Linked DNA regions of Homo sapiens: region 2 is linked to region 1. The links are contacts of gene promoters, found by promoter capture Hi-C in blood cells and fetal thymus (Javierre and others, 2016). All regions are on one chromosome and are shown on one strand. The core of a region is centred on a gene start or on the middle of the fragment in contact, and the rest is flanking DNA. Distances in the headings are between cores, read along the strand shown.

Evidence for each region. Contacts are between HindIII fragments. The CHiCAGO score rates a contact against its expected background, and 5 or more counts as called.
Region 2: a contact is called between a fragment that was not itself captured here and the fragment with the promoter of SLC6A7 in region 1, in 1 of 17 cell types (endothelial precursors). The highest score is 5.4, in endothelial precursors.

The regions. Positions count from the first base shown.
Region 1 is chr5:150,188,781-150,191,480 of GRCh38, reverse strand. SLC6A7 (solute carrier family 6 member 7) reads right to left here and starts at 1,419. Exons shown (of 14, transcript NM_014228.5): 1 at 1,121-1,419. The coding sequence starts at 1,153. The HindIII fragment of the contact is 12,060 bases long and covers 1-2,700 here.
Region 2 is chr5:149,852,275-149,854,974 of GRCh38, reverse strand. It overlaps PPARGC1B (PPARG coactivator 1 beta), which reads right to left. Exons shown (of 12, transcript NM_133263.4): 12 at 1-2,700. Among named protein-coding and RNA genes, the nearest start is that of PDE6A, 91 kb to the left of the region's middle. The HindIII fragment of the contact is 1,171 bases long and covers 704-1,874 here.

The DNA.
Region 1 (2,700 bases), core at 170-2,669:
CCAACCTGGGTGACAGAGCGAGACTCCGTCTCAAAAAAAAAAAACAAGAAAAAGAAAAAAGACACACCACAGTGGTTCCAAGCCCAGCTGCCCCAGAGCAGAGAACTTGAATGAATGAGTGTGTGTGTGAGTGAGTGTGAGTGTGAATGTGTGTGTATGTAGGGAGGTTGATAACACCAGCCCCTGAGAACAGTCTTCTCACATCTACCAGCCCTTTAGCATTCTTCCCCACACCTCACACACCCAGTGGGGCCTGTTTTGGTGCCTCCAGGCTAGGGCTTAGCCAGAGGAGGTTCAGGTTAGAGAATGAACTTGTCCAAAGTCACCAGGCAAGTGGCAGCGGCAGAAATAGTATTCAGGAGATCTGACTCCTTAGTTAGGACTGGTACAAGCCAGAAAACGTCCCCCAGTATTCCCCCTCCCCATATCCTGACAGCTTGGCTGAGAGGTCCAATCCCACAAGGCAAGGTAGGGAGAGCCTGAGGTCTGGGCCCACAGCCACTCTCCCATACCAGCTTCCATCTTCATTGATCATATCCTCCTGCCTCCGATAGCCCCCTCCCTGTCTTTGCCTCCCTTCAGCCCTGCTGAGGGGCAGCCTGGGGTCTCAGCAGGCAAGCTAAGGGGGCGGGGAGGGAGCAGGCAGGAAAGAGGAGAGTCTTCCCGCAGGCTCAGGGAGCCGGCTTCAGTATGGATGACCGCCTCCCACTCCCCACCCCTCAGATGAGTCCAGCTCAACGCTCAGGTATTCCAATACCCCCCACACCCGGCAATCAGCTCCTGGCGGGGAGCAGCAGGGTGGAATTGGGGAAGAGGTGGGTGCCTGGCCCCGGCCGCCCCTACCCCGCGCCTCCGGGGACTGCAGACACCTGTTCATAGGCCTGGCCCAGTGAACCAGGACTCCCCTCATACTACATCCCGAACCCCAGATGGCAGGGGCAGAGGTGGGGGCGCAGACCGTGACCCTGACCCTCCCTGTTATCCAGCTGAGTCGGGCCTTCCCCAGAGCCCGAAGCTGGTCTGGGTGCATCCTCAGACCTTCCCCAGGGGCCTCGTTGGGGGCGGGTCTCTCCAACCCTCCTCCAGGTGCACCCCCAGCGCCCCCGCCCTCGTGCCCTACCTTGCGGAGGTGAGCTCCCTGGAGCTTCTTCATCTTGGAGAGCGGGTGGCCGGGGCTCAGCTGCCCCGGAGCGCAGAGAGCGAGGGCACGAGAGATGGTCCGCTGGCCACTGCGCCTTTGCCCCCGCGGCTCCCGCGCACCGGCTGGGGCGGGCACGGACGCAGGCGCTGCCGTCTGGCGGCTGCGGGCGTGGAGCGCGGGCAGGGCGCTGCGAATGCCTTGTCTGTCCCTGCGCAGCGCCCGAGGCTGGGGAAGGGTGCACTGCTGCGCCCGCATAGACACCCAGACAGACAGCTGACGGACGGACGGCGGGGGGATGCGCGCGCCCCCGCACGCAGAGCTGCGGATTGGAGAGCCCTGAGCGAGTGGGGAGGGGGGTTCGCGACGGAAACCCTCGGCTTTCTGCGTGACCTTGGGCAAGCGACCTGCCCTCTCTGGGACTCCCTTTCCACAGTTGGGCAAGGAACACTAACAGCCCACCCCCCTGCGTCGTCTTTGCTGTGCGACCTTAGGGGATAAGAATCTCTCCTCTCTTACAGGAGTGTGAGCAATTCAGGAAGATGGAGCATAGAAAACATCTAGCACAAAGAGCCTGACACATAGTAGGTGCTCAGTTAACATTTATTCACTGACTGTGGGTTGCCCACGCCACCATTAGTCCAATTATTCAATCTATCAGTATTTATTGAGCACCTAAAATGTGCCAGGTCCTGAACTAGGTGTCCTATTTTCTCAACCTGGAGAGACAGGTGTCGTTACTCCTATTCTACAGATGAGGAAGCTGAGGGACAGGGAAGTTAAGTTACTTACTCAAAGTCACGGGGCTAATGAGTGACACCAGGGACAGAGTCAGGCTTCATGGACCTTTAGGCTAGTAGAGTCTTCAACTCTCCTCCTTTCCTTAAGATGAAAGCAAAATGGGGAGGTTTGGGTGAGCAGAAGGGACAGGCAAGTGCCACAGTGTCACTGTGATCTGTGACTTAGATGATTAGTAACTGGTTTCCTGTCCAGCAGCAGTATGGCTTCTGGAAAGTTCTAATTTCATATCTGTAAAATGGGCCACGAGCCGCCCATGCATTGTTGCCTCAGAATGTTCTGAGGGTCCAGTGAGCCTGTGGCTAGGATGGGAAATGATGAGCTGGAGCAATGGCACACGTTGGTTTGCTGGGACTGACTGATAGACACTAGCGGATCAGTATATACATTACAAATTGTGTCCTTTTCACCCTCGCAAGTGTCCCAGTTTAGACATTAACCATACATCTGTTTGGCTCACTATCAGTTGACACGGTGGGAGGCCTTTGGGGAGAGATGAGAATAAGGTTCTGCTCTCTCCCACCTCTGGAGCTTGAAAAAAGGTTGGAGGGGTTTAAGTCAAAGCATGGACTTGGGTAAAGGCCTGGCCAGGCTCCAGTCCACCCCTTCCCCTGCCCAGGTCCTGTCAAACTTCTCTCCCCTTTGAGCCTGGCCACAAAGGGCAAACCAGGGGCTCTCCAGACCCAGGAGGAAGGTGTCTCCTCTGCCCCCTGCCTGCTGACCCATATGGGGCCAAGAGTGGCTGTGAGTGTGAAGAGAAGGAG
Region 2 (2,700 bases), core at 40-2,539, 340 kb after region 1:
ATTTATAAGCAGATCACTTCACTATTTACAGTACATGAGCATAGAGATTCTACAGTTTCTGTGATGTAAACAATAACCCCACAGTGGGAGTTTGAGAAAAGAAGCCAGTTCTGAAGTATTTACAGACATTAAAATAGAACTTTATACTCACAGAATAATAATACATAGAGCAATTTGGTTAAATTATCTAGGAAACTATAGAATCTGACAATGTACAAATACAAGAAAACATTTTCTCATTTAGAAGGTAAGACAGAGAAATCACACCAGAAATAAAATAGGGACGATGACAACCACAATATGTAAAAGCAAAGAAGGTTTCCTCCTTGCCTCTTACGGATAAAGTATTTATATAAATAAGGACACAACCCAACAAAATGGAAAAAATATATAAAAATCCTCTACCAATTAAAAAAAATAGCAAAACTAAAAACTTGATTCTCAATCATTAGCAGTGTCCTTTAAAAAATTAAAATTTAGCTTTCTATTATAAATAACAAAGCAGATGTGTCCCTCTGTGTAGGTGAAATTCTTGCACCTTTCTCAATAAATGCATCAATGTAATTCCACACACACACACACACACAAACACACACACACAGGCACAGACGTGTGTATGTGTGCACAGATACACACACACACACCCCCACCACAAACACAGCCTTACACTCACGCACTCAGGCCGTAGTTACCTTGTTAAGCTTCCTAATAAATAATGCCCCCTACAGTAGTACCCCCGGGGATGACAAAACCTCACAGGTTTAGCCATTCCTTGGTTTGACCCTGTCGCAGAGTCAGGGAAAGCCCTGGCTCCTATTGCTCAGAATTCTCTAGGCTGTGTGGTCACACCAAGAGAAAATAATTTGAGTCCAAGATTTGGAAATGCTGGAAAGGACCATAGGGACCACCTTGCCCAGTTGATTAAGGCTGGCTACAGACACCTTCTTTAGAAACCTGGGGTTGGGGAGAGGGCTCGTGTTGGTTTCAACATTAGCAGCTGCCTCTGGAAGAAGCAGATGCTCCAAGCCAATGCTAACAACATGGCACAAGGAGGCGAGGGGGTGGGTGTGAATTCCAGAGCAGACTGCACTAAGCTGGACTTCTGGATGGTCATCTTCCCCAGAAACCATTTGGAAATCCAAGCAGTCTATTCCCCTGCTGCACATACCACCTTGTCCACGCTCCCCTTGAGATTTCCCACCTGTTTCCATTGGAATCAGAACATCCCTCAAGAAACAAAGTTGGGAATAGTTTATGACTTTTTATTCCTAACACAAAAACATTTGACAAGATTTTAAAAATACAAAATACAGAAACAAAAAATTGAACAAAAAAAACTATTTGGCTATTCGGGGATCATATCAAAGATCATGGCCAGGCCCCCCACAAAATCCTTACACCCAACTTCTTATCTTGCCTTGAGGGCAGAATTCGGACCACCCAGCAAAGGTTTACTTAACAAGGTCAGCAGCTGGGCTGCCAGTATTGCAGTTACAGTAAACCCTTCCCGGGCACCTGGACCTCTCCTGGTCCACTCCTGTCTCTTCTGCCCACAGGACAGCTAGTGCATTTCTCAGTTCTGCGTGAGAGTCTACTAAGTGGCTGCTTCTGGAGTCTTCTGACCCTAGTGTTGCACTGATCTCTGAACACAAAGGCAGTTCGTTCAGGCCATTATATTTCATTCCCAAAGTTCACGATGGACAGCAGGGTGGCCGAAAGGATTTATTTGCCTTCCATCTGGGTAGCTGGTGGAGACAACCTTTGGCCACTAGATGGCGACCGCATGTTGATAAGGCAAAGTGCTGAGGTGGAAACTGACCAATTCCCTTCACAAGTAACCAATGAGCAAGGGTGGTCAAGTGAAAAAGGAAGCTTTTGTAAGCCGCCTTGGAGACTCCTTTGACCAAAAATACAGCCCAGGGGGGTTCTAGTTATATAAACCCCTCTTTGAGGAGTTGTTGCACAGCCCAGGGACCGACCACCTATAAAACCTATTTTCCAAGCCCCAAATTTGGGCAGTTGGATTTTTGTACTCCTTCCGGATGTGCAAAGCATACTGATGAAACAGAGTATCTGAAAAGCTGTCCCCAGGAATCACGAAGGCTCAGTCACTGCTGCTATACCATTAAAGAAACAAAAAACAAAAGCTGCCCTAAACATATGCAGCGCGATCAATGCCTCCTGTTGCCCCATATGTTTTACAATCATTTGAAAGAAATGTGTGAAAAGCTCCTAAGCTGTTTTTCTTTAAAAAAAAAAAAAAAAAGTGTATTGCTAGTATTGTCTGAGAACAAGAGAGAAACAGCCAAATGGTCACAACATTCGGATTAACAGCTATCCAGTGGGGACAAAGACAAGGTTAATGTGAGATTTGACATCGTTACCTAGCCAAGTTGGGGGTTTAATTCCTTACTGTCCCCACTAGAAACTATGGCTTAGATCTGTCCCGGGGAGCTGGTCTTCTTGGATAAGGCAACTCAGCCAGGACACAGTGGGATTGAACCTACTGCTGGTTGGTTCTTGCAGAGAACCCTCACCCTGAACAGGAGCTGGGTCAAGTCAGAGAATGGAATCAGTTTCAAGGAGGAGTGATGGATTCCCAATGCTCCTGGTTGGGGATCTGAGCCTCTCAGAGGTGAAAGGGACTTTAATGCTCATATTCAACATTCTCATTTGGTAGATGAGGAAACAGGGGCCCAA